Linked DNA regions of Homo sapiens: all the other regions are linked to region 2. Evidence: promoter capture Hi-C in 16 types of primary human blood cells and fetal thymus (Javierre and others, 2016). All regions are on one chromosome and are shown on one strand. Each heading gives the region's core, a stretch centred on a gene start or on the middle of the fragment in contact. The rest is flanking DNA. Distances are from core to core; before and after follow the strand shown. Region 1 overlaps FKBP14 (FKBP prolyl isomerase 14). Region 2 holds the start of MINDY4 (MINDY lysine 48 deubiquitinase 4). Region 3 overlaps PLEKHA8 (pleckstrin homology domain containing A8). Region 4 overlaps LOC105375216 (a long non-coding RNA gene).

Evidence for each region. Contacts are between HindIII fragments. The CHiCAGO score rates a contact against its expected background, and 5 or more counts as called.
Region 1: a fragment that was not itself captured here is called in contact with the fragment with the promoter of MINDY4 in region 2 in 1 of 17 cell types (total CD4 T cells); the score reaches 6.4 in total CD4 T cells.
Region 3: a contact is called between a fragment that was not itself captured here and the fragment with the promoter of MINDY4 in region 2, in 4 of 17 cell types (non-activated CD4 T cells, naive CD4 T cells, activated CD4 T cells and 1 more). The highest score is 8.4, in non-activated CD4 T cells.
Region 4: a fragment that was not itself captured here is called in contact with the fragment with the promoter of MINDY4 in region 2 in 1 of 17 cell types (total CD4 T cells); the score reaches 5.7 in total CD4 T cells.

The regions. Positions count from the first base shown.
Region 1 is chr7:30,012,685-30,015,897 of GRCh38, forward strand. FKBP14 (FKBP prolyl isomerase 14) reads right to left here. Exons shown (of 4, transcript NM_017946.4): 4 at 1-2,209. The coding sequence ends at 2,051. The region is part of intron 2 of FKBP14-AS1 (FKBP14 antisense RNA 1); the gene reads left to right. Among named protein-coding and RNA genes, the nearest start is that of FKBP14, 12 kb to the right of the region's middle. The HindIII fragment of the contact is 662 bases long and covers 1,134-1,795 here.
Region 2 is chr7:30,770,140-30,773,529 of GRCh38, forward strand. It overlaps MINDY4 (MINDY lysine 48 deubiquitinase 4), which reads left to right and starts at 1,278. Exons shown (of 18, transcript NM_032222.3): 1 at 1,278-1,417. The coding sequence starts at 1,355. The region is part of intron 3 of INMT-MINDY4 (INMT-MINDY4 readthrough (NMD candidate)); the gene reads left to right. RefSeq lists silencers at 1,159-1,208, 1,269-1,318, 1,689-1,838 and an enhancer at 1,394-1,688. The HindIII fragment of the contact is 5,437 bases long and covers 1-1,972 here.
Region 3 is chr7:30,029,845-30,033,466 of GRCh38, forward strand. All of the region lies in intron 1 of PLEKHA8 (pleckstrin homology domain containing A8), which reads left to right. Among named protein-coding and RNA genes, the nearest start is that of PLEKHA8, 3.2 kb to the left of the region's middle. The HindIII fragment of the contact is 441 bases long and covers 1,037-1,477 here.
Region 4 is chr7:30,131,375-30,134,697 of GRCh38, forward strand. LOC105375216 (a long non-coding RNA gene) reads right to left here. Exons shown (of 3, transcript XR_927146.3): 1 at 3,230-3,323; 2 at 1,943-2,081; 3 at 1-109. Among named protein-coding and RNA genes, the nearest start is that of MTURN, 2.0 kb to the right of the region's middle. The HindIII fragment of the contact is 339 bases long and covers 1,451-1,789 here.

The DNA.
Region 1 (3,213 bases), core at 215-2,714, 760 kb before region 2:
TGGAACCTCGCGTTGTTCAGGGTTTTTGAGGCAATTCAGAGCTAACTGCAAGATTATGCTATGAAACTGAAGCCATTTCTATATCATAGTGAGAATTCTAATGTACCAGAAACAGGCAGAAAGCCATCTTCAGAGAATGAAGACTCAAAGATAAACAACGGCACAGCAAACTGAAGAGAGAATTAGACCCCAGGGAAATTTTCACTTTTCATTAGTAGAGGGCAGTAGAAGACACTGAACTTGGGGACTGAATACTGGTTCTGCAGGTTAGTGCTGACCCTGGGCATAACAGTCAATCTTTTTGAATGACAATTTCCTCGTCTATAAATTAGGTACAGTGAGATCCACCAGCTTGTTTTATGACTCAGAGCCATGAAAAGCGAAGATAATAATGCACTTAATATCATTTTGTACACTATAAAGGGCTACTCTTAGAAAATGAAGATTTGATAACTTTAAAAAAAAGAATTAAAGATAAAAGCCAATTTAAAATAAAATTATATATATTTTTTTCTTTTTTAAAATCCAGGATAGGTATTTATTCAATAGTAGCTGCTGTAGGTCTGCTTCTTTTTTTTTTTTTGAGATGGAGTCTTGCTCTGTCACCCAGGCTGGAGTGCAGTGGCACAATCTTGGCTCACTGCAACCTCCGCCTCCCGGGTTCAAGCAAATCTCCTGTCTCAGCCTCCCGAGTAGCTGGGACTACAGGTGTGCACCACCACGCCTGGCTAATTTTTGTATTTTTAGTAGAGACAAGGTTTCACCATGTTGGCCAGGCTGGTCTTGAACTCCTGATCTCAAGTGATCCACCCTCCTTGGCCCCCAAAGTGCTGGGATTACAGGCATGAGCCACCACACCCAGCTAACTTCAGTTTTTGATGAGACAGAAATGGGAAAATGTAGACTGGTTTACTACTTTATCTTATGATACAATGTTATTGTAGTATAATATACTATAGACTACCCATTAAAGAACCAGGAAGGATATTCCGCTAGCCTTAAGAAGTAAATATTGAATATAAATATAACTTTCTACCTCATCTATAACATATTGATACATTTTATTACAAAGAAACTCACACATAAATGATTTGTCCTATTTATCATAATAGGCCACCAATCACTAGGAGCCAAGCTTCATCAGCTTAAGTCCTAGGTAGCATGTCTCAATGCATACATATTTATATGTTATTAACCGTGTTTCTTTTCTTTTTTTCGAGACAGAGTGTCCAGGCTGGAGGTGATCTCGGCTTACCGCAACCTCCGCCTCCGGGTTCAAGTGATTCTGCCGCCTCAGCCTTCCTGGGTAGCTGGGATTACAGGCACGCATCACCACGCCCGGCTACTTTTGTATTTTTAGTAGAGATAGGGTTTCTCCGTGTTGGTCAGGCTGGTCTCGAACTCCCAACCTCAGGTGATCCGCCCGCCTCAGCCTCCCAAAGTGCTGGGATTACAGGCATGAGCCACCATGCCTGGCTATTAACCTTGTTTCTAACTTCAGCATTGCACATCTCCTTAGTAAAGCAGTAGCCATTAACAAGTCAGGTCCAACAACCATTTTCCTCTGGTCCTCAAGCAGAGACTCAGAGCCAGTTACACATAAACTATTTCATTATAACATGAAAATAGCAAGCCTTGGGCTATTGCAAAAGGCTTTTCAAATGTTGACCTCTAACTTGGAGAAAATAGAGGGAAGCAGAAATATAGGGTGCTAATTTGTGCTATAACCTGGTCTCATGTCGTGGTATATTCCCAGTTGCAACATTTTAAATTTATAAGTGAGAAAGTAAAACAAAGCTTCATATCTGTGAAAGTGAAAAATTGTCCAGAAGTCTTCTATTCAAAGACCAATTAGCTTTTTCTTCCCAATAACTTATCAGAAAGAAATGGGTACTTAGAAACCTAAGGGGTTCTTTAAATAGGAGTCAGAAAAAATATATAAAAATAAAAAACAAAGCAAGAAAGAACATTGTATAAAAATAAAATGTTCTTTAAAGATGACTGCCCTCTCTTGAAAGATGAGTGCTATATTAAAAGGGTAGATGTATCTCTATAACTCATCGTGTTTATATGTAAATTCTCTGGCAGATATAAACCCATCTTTGTCTTCATCTTCTTTATCAAAAATATCCTCCACCAAAGCATCATGATGACTTTCATTCACCACCGCACCATGTTTTTCAAACTCCTTCTTTAAATATGCTTTAACCTACAAAATAACAGATCCCATTAATAACTTGGATTCATAAGATACCCACATTGAGCCAATCAATATCACAGACATGGACTGTTATTATATTTAGTTCATTAACTAAATATAATACCTTCTAAACAGCCATTTTATGACATAGTTTTAATGATAATTAAAAAATAATAGAAACTTTTTCCCTTAAAAAAACTGTTGCTAAACTGCTAAAGTGGAGACACAAAATATTGCTCAAAGGCAGGGCCAGGTGTGGTGGCTCATGCCTGTTATCCCAGCACTTTGGGAGGCCCAAGTGGGAAGATTGCTTGAGGTCAGGAGTTGGAGATCAGCCTGGCCGACATAATGAAAGCCCATCTCCACTAAAAATACAAAAAAAAGTTAGCCAGGCATGATGGCATGCGTCTGTAATCCCAGCTATTCAGGAGGCTGAGGCAGTTGAATCGCTTGAACCTGGAAGGCAGAGGTTGCAGTGAATCGAGATTGCGCTGCTGCCCTCCAGCCTGGGCAACAGAGTGAGACTCTGTCAAAAAAATAAAAAATTAAAAAATTAAAAATATATATATATATATAGCTCTCTCTATATATATATTGCTCAAAGGCAGAGATAAAGCTTATGTCATGTATACAATCCTCATATAGGGCTTATATTATTGGAGAATACCCAATGAGAGCATACTACTTGTTCTTAATCTGAATCTAAATACTAGGCATTTCTTTTCTTTTTTTAGACAGAATCTTTTTTTTTTTTTTTTTGAGACGGAGTCTCACTCTGTTGCCCAGGCTGGAGTGCAGTGGCGCAATCTCGGCTCACTGCAAGCTCCGCCTCCCGGGTTCACGCCATTCTCCTGCCTCAGCCTCCCGAGTAGCTGGGACTACAGGCGCCCGCCACCACGCCCAGCTAATTTTTTGTATTTTTAGTAGAGACGGCGTTTCACCGTGTTAGCCAGGATGGTCTCGATCTCCTGACCTCGTGATCTGCCCGCCTCGGCCTCCCAAAGTGCTGGGAT
Region 2 (3,390 bases), core at 28-2,527:
ACGGTGGTGGGCGCCTGAAATCCCAGCTACTCAGGAGGCTGAGGGAGGAGAATGGTTTGAATCCGGGAGGTGGTTGTTCACTTGGCAGTGAGCCGAGATTGCGCCACTGCATTCCAGCCCGGGCACCTGAGCGGGACTCTGTCTCAAAAAAAAAAAAAAAAAAAGAAAAAAAAATTCCCGTGTTGAAGTCCTAATGCCTGGTATTCCAGAATGTGACTGTGTTGGATAGGGTCTTTAAAGAGGTGATGAAGTGGAAATGCAGTCATTAGGGTGGACCCTATTCCAATACAACTGATGTCTTTATAAGAAGAGATTAGGACACAGGCACACACGGACGGCTAGCCACGTGAAGACACTGGGAGAAGGTGGCCATCTATAATAGAGGCCAGGGAGAGAGGCCTCAGGAGAAACCATCCAGCTGACACCTCGATCTTGGTCTGTAGCCCTCAGAACTGGGAGACAATAAATGTGTTGTTTAAGCCACATGGTCTGTGGTACTTTGTATGGCAGCCCAAGCAAAGGAATACAATAGGTAACATGCGGAAGTGGCAAAGATTGTGAAGGTGGAACCCAGGTGACTAAGTTCGGGGAAAATGTACTGGGCTTGGTTAGAAACCCAACTTTCCCAGTACCCAGCTGTGTGGGCCTCAGCAAAATCTTAGCCTTTCTGAATCTCAGTGTCCCGTTTTAAAGAATGGGGCCAACAGTAACTACCTAGCCAGGAAGTTGTAAGGATTAAAAGTGCAACCGTGAGTTAAGAGCTTGGTGATCAATAAATGGCAGTCTCATTACGGGAAAGCAGGCACCAAGGGGGCGAGGAACATCTCCTTTAATTTCGGTGCCCAAGAAGCAGAATGCTGGGCTTCCTTGCCCCCACCGTCAAGGCCCGCCAAGGTCAGTAGCGTTGGTGGCCCCAGAGGGGGCCGTGGTGCTGAGGGTGGACCTGAGGGGGTCACTTCCCTGTGAGTTTAGTCCTCCAGAAACAAGGAGGCAGGTATTCTTCCCATTTTATGTCTAGGAAAATGGAGCCTCGGAGCGGAGCGGTAATTTGTCCTAGGCCTCTCAGATGACCAGGGCCAGGGTCAGAGTGAGGCCCCGAGTCCGGAGCCGTGGACGGGGCCCTAGGCGACACCAGGGCGCCCTGACTGCGGCCTCCCACTCCGAGACGCGAGTTTGCGGGACGCTCCACCCCTTCCCTCCCGCCCCAGCCCGCCAGCCCCAGGGAAGGGGAGGAGTTCTTGCCGCGCCGACGCCGCCGTCGCCACGGCAACGCGGCCATACTGCGCCGGACAGACCCAGTTGCCTGGTGCTGCGGCCCGGCGTGGGCCTCGTGGGCAGAGCCAGAGCCAGAGCCATGGACAGCCTCTTCGTGGAGGAGGTGGCCGCCTCCTTGGTCAGGGAGTTCCTCAGCAGAAAGGTAACGGCTCGCCCCCTCCAAAGCCCAGGAAGTGGCTCTAATTTGGGGGGATCATCGGGGTCTCCCCTGAAGGCTTTGCAGCTTCTGGGAGGGCGCCCGTTCCCTACCTACTGCCTGCTCCAGAGATGCCCCAGAAGAGCGCCGCTTTCCCGGGACAGGGGAAACTACATTTCCCACGAGGCGTTTCTGCCGTCGTCACCGGGCGCTTCCGCAAGGCACGGTTTGGACCCCGTCCGCTGCCCTCCTGGGGCATCCGCGCTCCGGGGCGGCGGCAGCTGGGGAGGGGGCCTGGGGGCCGCGCCAAGCAATCCTAGCGCGGGCGCACAGCGGGCAGGCCTGCGCCCTAGCCTGGCTGCCGGCCTCCGTGCGCTACCCACGCAAGTCAGGGTCCCACTCGGAAAGAACTTCTCCCAGAGGGAACCCCAAAAGCCCAGAAAAGTTCTTGACGGTCAAACCCTTAGTCATTTTAGTCAACAGTGGGAATTCCAGTGGTTGCTTTAATTTTTGTAAGTTTTCCTATTGTCTTGTCCCAGGAGAGTTTTTGCAGTGTTCACAAGCTTGGAAGGTCCTTAGCTGTCATCTGGCCTCAGGGTGGAGATGGGGACCTCGGTGGGGAAGGAGCTCGCCGGGGGGTCTTGGGCGTGGTAGTGGAGGGGGACATACATTAGCTCATTCAGCACATGGTGACTGAGGGCTGCACTCTGTGTGTTTTGTCTGTCCTTGCAGTGTCATACTGGGCTAGGGCGATGGGTACTTGTCTTGTATGAAAACACATACACGTAATTTTTTGAATGGAGGAAAGGGGAAGGACTTTGAAGTCAGACGGAGACAATTCAAATATTTGCTACTAGTTTGCAGTGTGAACCTCAGTACTTTACTCACTGTCTCAATTTCGTTATCTGTAAAACAGGAAAGTAAGACCTACTCTTTGCAGATTTATAATGAGGATTAATATTAACATATGGGCAGCTTCCAAGCATTGGATCTGACATATAGATACAATGTGCACGTAGGTGTTCAACTTTATACCTCCTCCCACCCTCACTGTTTCTGACACCAAACAGGTGTCTCTGAAGTGCACCTGTTTGGAAAGTGTCTTTGTGTGTTTTTTATGATTTATTTTTATTTGAAAAAATTTTAAATGCGTTTGGCTTTGTCGCATCTGCCCTGTCTTTATGGCTAATTGACCTGCCATCACCTGTCCTGGCTGCATGTTGGATATCAATTGACACACCCTGGAAAGCTGACTGTTAACATCATTTCTTTTAAGTCTGGGTCACTGAAAAAAACTCTTAGAGAGGGCTTCCTCGTGTTCTTTCTTGAGTACAAATGAAATCCAGTGTCCTCACTGACATCCAAGCCTGCCCTGTAGCTTGACCCCAGCTTACCATCTCAATTTCATTTCTAGCCTCTCCCACATCCCTCCCCACCACCCCCCACTTGACATGGCCGAGTTCCCCTGGTCTCCTCTCCCTCGCATGTTTTATCTGGGCACACTAAGGCCCTAAGAGTAGAAAGGAGTTGCCCACAGTTACTCAGAAGGTCACAGTGAGCTGGGACTGCAGCCCAGGTATACTGCTTTCTCATCGCCTTCTGCTCTAGGGCAGAGACCACGTGCTCCCCACAGGGTTTTGCACAGGCAGTCATTGCACCCAGCAGTCGTAACCAAGAGAGCTGCCACCTTGGTGCCAGGTACCTAGAAGGTGCTGGTTTGTTGTCTCAGATCCTCGTAACAGTCCTGAAAGATAGGTATAAGTATTCCCTTTCACATAAGATTATTGTGAGACCAGGAGGCCAAGAAACTTGCCCAGGGTGAGCAGGTCAGACCATGTAATTCCCCTGCTCAAACCCCTCTACTGGCTTCCCATCATAATTAGACTTCAAGTCTCTCCATTACTTGGCTCTGGCTACCCTCAGACCTCATCTTCCATGACTGCTTGCTCCGCCCTCTACCCTTCAACCACTTTGGCCTA
Region 3 (3,622 bases), core at 7-2,506, 740 kb before region 2:
TAGTAACTTCGAGGAGGTCACACAGCACAGCCAAAGGTGCCCCTATTGGGCGTACCCAGAATCTCTTCCCTTTGCTTAGTGTAATTAGCAGTGAGTTCACCTGTTTATTTTTTTTCTGTAATCATTAATAGAGACTAAATGAGAAGAGGTTTTTCTTGTTTGCGTCAAGGACCTTCAGTGATGTCTGCAATTAGATTAGATGAGAATAACTCAAAGCTAGGCTTTGGTTTGGTGGATGACAGAGGCTGATCAACACTGCTAACCTAAGGGGAGGAGGCTCGACCTGGCAGTTTTCCTTCTGAGGTCTCTCTAAGCTCTCAGATGCATATACTTGAGTAAAATTTAGTTCCTGATCCTTCACTCCTTTCCATTACACACACTTTTTTTCATTCATCTTCAACATTCTTCTTTTTTTCCCATTCTTCCCCATCCCCAACTTTTTTTGTTGTTTTGTGGGGTTTTTTCCCCCTCTTTTCCTTCTCCTTTCTATATAGAAAGTTTAGTCTCTTGATACAGTAACTATTTCCTGGTAGTGAAATGCTTTTGCTGTTGTTGTTGCTGACTGTCCTTGTGTATCCTTCAATAAAGCAGAACTCTCTAGAAGGATCTTTTGGAATCTTTGTTATTTGATTCCTATCTGTTCTGTTGGAAAAGAGTCTACTTTTTTCTTCCCAAAGTAAGAGAAGTTAATGCTGTGAGTGGTGCTAGGGTGGAAACCCTGAAGAAGAGGGCACTGGAGCCATTGCCAGAGACAGCTGTCTCTACGTGATGCTGCTTGTTCCCTTAGCCCACGTGCCCCGTCCTTGTAGGCATACTGTTCATAGAAGCCCATCACACCACTGGGTATTTTCCAGATATACATAGAATGATGGTTCGGCATATTCTCTCCTTTTAGGAGATAAATTTACTTGGGAAAGAAGTGGTAATAGCCTAGGAGGATCACATGCATTCTTGTTTCCTCCACCCTCCACTTTTCTACTTGTTCTTCGGAAGTGAGCATGTTGTGTTAGTGACAAGTTACTTTTTCTTTTTCTGAAGCTTGTTTTAAAAAGTAACTTTTTTTTTCTTGTAGGTTTGCACATACTAACTTTAAAATACATACAATCCCAATCCAAGTTTTTGTTCATTCTGAATTTTTCTCCAAAGGTAGTACGTAACCCATGCCTCTGTATGGTTTGTGTATTTGTCATGCTGACAGCTTGATATGGGATGCCTTGTGTCAAATTTGAGTGAAGTTAGGAAATCAGTTTATCACTTGGTCTTTTGAATCCTTAGGGGATGTTGTTAATTTCATTTACCATCTACTGTGCTAGGCACAGGGGAAGCAATGTTGAACAAAGCCCATGCCCTTCTTGAGCCTACAGTCTGGTGGGGGAAGAAAGATATTTATTGGTTAAGTGGTTAGAACCATGTTTCATTGTGTGTGATTGATTGGGGAGGAGGGAGGGCAGAGAGGCTAGTACGGGTTGTTAGAGAAAGCTTCTTTGAGGAAAAATTTAAGCAGAGTCTGAAGGATAAATCAAGCTGTTAATAGTTCGCTGGAGAGGCCAAGGCAGAGGTGTAGTTAGAGGAAATAAAGAAGAACTTTTCAGGCACAGGGAATGCCAGTGTCAAGGCCCCAAAGCAGAATGGAGACGTGCGAGTTTGAGGAAAGGAAAGAGGACCCATCTGGCTGAGAGCTGAGGAGAGTGAGGCTCCAACAAAGATGCAGGGGTGTGCGGGAGGCTAGATATTTCAGGGCCTCATAGGCTGGTTTAAACACTGTGATGTGATTGTGTGTGTGCATGTGGGTACATGCATGCATGCGTCTGTGAGAGAGAAATGATGAGATTGTTTAAAAGCTTACTCTGGCTTTAGCGTAGCGTAGAACATTTTCTGGTTACATCTTTATATCTCTCCTGCTGCATTTATTGTACTTCACTAAATACTATGTATTATTATTTTGTGAGCTTCTTTTGCCTCTTGAATTTTAAATCGATAGGTATTAATTACTGAAAGTTAGAATTCATCAAGCCCTGATAATAGCGTCTGAGGTTTATGTGAGTGTATTTCTAGAAGAGAAAAGAAGTCTCTTCCCTTAAATGCTAAGCGTATTCAGGTACTCTATCCTCCTTCAATGAAAAATACAAAAAAAAAAAAGTTTACATGTATTTTCGTTTACAGTCTGGTTTCATCCTGCCTTTTGGACATTCCGGGATTTAGTGCCAGTACCTTTCTTTAGATGTTAGAAGATTAAACTTGGGATGAAGAGAGTAAATTAAAAACATGTTACAGATTCCCACATTGTGTGAGACATACTTCTAAAGAAGCACTGTGTTTGTTATTTGTGTCTTTCAAGACCTAAAATTTAGTCAAGGAGTATTATACATGTAGGGCTACACATTAATACTCTAGAACGCTGGTTCAGGAGTCAGAGAGACCTGAAGCCTGGCAAACAGCCCTATTACTGCCAACTGCAGGGTCACTTTAGCATCCTGAGCCTTAGTATCTTCCTCCATTTAAAATAATGGGATTTACTAGTTTATAATTGTAAGAACTGTTAAAAATTTATTAGTACTTACAATGTGCCAAGCACTTTTCTAAACATTTTACATGGATTAACTCAGTCTTTGCAGCAATTTCAAAAAACAGTTGCCTTTATTATGCCCATTTTCCAGATGAAGACACTGAGATATAGAGACGTGGGTTTGCTGAAGGTCACACAGCCACTTATTAAGTGGCTTCAGAGTCAGTGCTCCATTAGACAATACTTTTAAAGGTCCTTCTTGCTTGATCATTATGTAATTCTAGCTGATTCATAATGTACCTATATTTAAAGTATGTTTGACCTAGAATAGCAGACTATTTCGGGGGTGGGAAGTGGGGAGGAATTCAGAAGTGAAGAAAGCTTTGACTGCCCAATGTTGTGCATATGTTTTGCCACGAGGAAATTTTCTAACCTGTGCTTTCTACTTTGTAGTTTTAGGTCCTTTTCCTGCCCACTCAGCTGATAGGAGGGCTGCTGTTGTGAACTCCAGCCAGCCGAAGGCTGCTTGTGCCTCTCCAGCAGGTTAAAGCTCAAGCACATTGCATTACTGCATTCTGAAAATAACAAAAGCCTGCATCATACTGGCCAGATGGTTTTCATTAAGGATGTGCTATAATTTTGTTTCCCCTCAGGTGGAGGAAGGTGACTCTTGCCCTATATACTATATATACTAGTGCTGTGTAAACAGTACCAGGAAGACATCTGGAGTATGAGGATTCTTGGTTTCACAACCACTGGTCAACCCTTTTTGTTGTTGTTAACATTTTAACATCTTTATGGAGATAATTCATAAACCATAAAATTCATCCATTTAAAATGTACAAGTCAGTGATTTTAGTATATATAAAAAGTGTAACTATTACCATGATCAATTTTAGAACATTTTCATTATCCCAGAAAGAAACCCAGTACCCATTAGCAGTCACTCCTACACCTACACCTGCCCTTCACTGTTGGCAACCACTAATCTGTCTGCACAGATTTGCCTCTTCTAGGCAGTTTATATAAATGGAATTATATAATATGTGGTCTTTTGTGGCTGGCTGCTTTCCCGTAGCATAATGTTTTTTTTGGATAGCATGTATCAGAACTTCA
Region 4 (3,323 bases), core at 370-2,869, 640 kb before region 2:
TGAGCTCCTGATGTCCTAGCCAGTGGGGTTTGAATATGTCTCCTCTTCTTGCCAACACACATCTCCCAAAGGCAAATGGTGATTTTCAGAGACAGCAAAGTCCAGATTTCTATAAATGAACAGAAACGTTCCTTAAATACAATGAAGACTGTACAACTCTGCCTACTGGTGGGGATAAGTTTTTTTGTCTGTTTGTTTTGTTTTTTGAGATAGGGTTTCCCTCTGTCACCTAGGCTGGAGGGCAGTGGTGTGATCATGGCTCACTGCAGCCTCGACTTCGAGGGCTCAAGGGATTCTCCCACCTCAGCCTCCCAAGTAGCTGGGACTACAGGCACATGCCACCATGCCCAGCTAATTTTTGTATTTTTAGTAGAGACAGGTTTTCACCATGTTGCCCAGGCTGGTCTCAAACTCCTGGGCTCGGTGATCCACCCACCTTGGCCTCCCAAAGTGGTGGGATTACAGGTGTGAGCCACCACGCCTGGCTGGGGAGAAGTTTTAATTTTCCTTCTACTTCCAAACCATGGCCAAAGGCTATGGGAACACAAGAAAGGGGGTATGGGTAGCCCTGGTGTTTCCTCACCTACTGGCTGCACAAAACACCTGGCTAGAGTTCTGAAATGACCACTGCCCTGTGCATGAGGCCTAAATACACCCCTACAACCTGGGATGCCTCACAGGACTCTCCCCAAACAGGAGGGAGGCAGGGCAAAGGTTTATGATCTTCTTAGCTAAGCAACTGGTGGCTTTACCAGTTGTTCTAAGGAAACAAAATTTCAAGCAACTTCTGCAGATGAACTTTCCAGGATGAATTTCAGCTGCTTTATGTGCATACCCTTTCCACTAGTTAGTAAAAATGACCAAAACACGACTGTTGCAAGACTTTTCTCTCTAAATCTGTGGTTCTCAAGTAGGGGTAATTTTGCACTCAGGGGACATTTGGCAATGTCTGGAGAAATTTTTGCTTGTCACAGTGGAGAGAGGGGAGGGTAGAGGGAGATGCTACAGGCATCCAGTGGGTGGAGGCCAGGGAATGTGGCTAAAAATCCTGCAATGTGCAGGACAGCCTCCAACAACAAAGAATTTTTGGCTTCAAATATCAATAGTGCTGCTGCTGAGAAACCCTGCTCTAAAGACTTGGAAAAAAAAATGAGATTTAGGTTCATCTGTGACCAATATTACCAGTCATATCACTCCTGAATTTCACTTTAAAAATTCATTAGCTGATCTTCTTACACATCATCCCTAAGAAGTAGATTAAGAGTAATAATGGCATTTACTGAGTTCTTACTATGTGCTAGGTTCTGGGATAAGGACTTTATATACTTTATCTCACTGTTGTCCCTGTTTTCAGAAAAGAAAACTGAGCTCCGAGCAATGAAGGAAGTTGCAGATGCACATAAAACTTAAAATGGCAGAGGGAGGAATCAATGCAGACATGGAGTTCTGAAGCTTTTGCTGTTGCTCTCAGTGCATTTCTAAGGAAACCCAACGGTATCCATTTCATTGACCAATTGCTTTGTACCCAAAATTTTATTTTTCATAAGAGTTTTTCATTTTCTGACAAAAACTATTTGTTAAATAAACATAACTTCATAATTCTGATCACATCACTTGGAGCAAATTTGACTGATACATTTTAAAACACATGGATTAAAAAAAAAACTCCTTCTTTCCCGAAAAAGGAAAAAAGGAATGTATTTTTCATATTTTCATCTCCAATTTAAGGAATTCATTTTTGGAACACATATTATGCTTTAAATGGTGGTGCCAGGTAAAACTGCAAGGAAGCTTGTGCTATCTGGAGACACCCATACTTTTTTTTTTTAAGGACCATTTTGTAACTTTACAACAGCATATTGCATTTTTATATTCATGTGCCTGTCTCCTTCATTGTCCTGTGTATTAGTTTTCTACTGCTGCATGAAGAATTTAAACAGACCTAACAGCTTAAAACAACACCCATTTAATAGCCCACAGTTCTGAAAGTCGGAAGTCCCAGCACAGCCATGGCATCACTGGGTTCTCGCTCAGGTTCTGCGAAGGCTGCAATCATGGTAATAGTCAGGCTCAGTTCTTGTCTGGAAAAGACAACAAGTTTGAGAAAAAAATCTGCTTTTCAAGCTCATTCGGGTTGTTGGCAGAATTCAGTTCCTTGCAACATTGGCCTAGGCAAATAATTTATGACTAAAACCCCAAAGGAAGTGCAACAAAAACAAGAATAGACAAATGGGCCTTAATTAAACTAAAAAGCTTCTGCACAGTAAAAGAAACAATCAACAGAGTAAATAGACAACCTACAGAATGAGAGAAAATATTTGCAAACTACGCATCTGACAAAGGACTAATATCCAGAATCTACAAGGAACTCAAACAACTCAACAAGAAAAAAAAAAAACCCATTAAAAAGTGGGCAAAGGACATGAACAGATATTTCTCAAAAAAGACATACAAGTGGCCAACGAACATATGAAAAAATGCTCAACATCCACTAATTATCAGAGAAATGCACATTAAAACCACAATGAGATACAATCTCACACCAGTCAAAATGGCTATGATTAAAAAGTCAAAAAACAGCAGATGTTGGTGAGGGTGCAGAGAAAAGGAAACATATATACGTGTTGGTGGGAATGTAAATTCGTGCACAGTGCCTGGTTCAGAAGACACACTTTACAGAAAAAAGCTGGCTGAATGTTTATAACGTGTCTGTGTTTGTAGTGTTCAAGTCCTGAGGGCGAGGACCCTAGTGCATTTTCTGCAATCCAGTAATGCCTGTCCAGTATATGGCAGCCAGTGAGCACTCAACAGGTGCAATCGTTGGGCCACACACTCTTGTTTTAAAATGTGCTTTATCCTCTTGACCTTTTTAGGTTATGCAATGTGAATTCAAGCTGAATAATACTGAAGCCAGTCTTATGAGGCTCATTTCTAAGAAATATTCAGCTTTACGTAACGCAAATAAAAAATCACACACGCCCTTTGCAAGTGAACATTCATATTAGTGTCTGATAAATGCATTAAGAAGACACATTCCCTTAAATCAATCGGAGAACAGAACTTTGGTTTCTGCAAAAAGAAAAGCTCCCTTTTCCTTAGATTTTCTCAGCTCCTCCACTGCTAGCCCCAGACAAGGTCCAAGTTATCTGCAGTTCTATGGCCTCCCTTGCATTTAAATCGCATTTGGGCAAACGCTTCCTGGGCTTTCTAACTCCACAGAAACGCTAACCAGGTATTGGGCGCTCGCACCGCTTCCAGGTAACCCGCGGAGCTGCGGATTCCAGGCTCGCGCTGTGACGTCACCGGGCTCGCAAGCCGCGGCG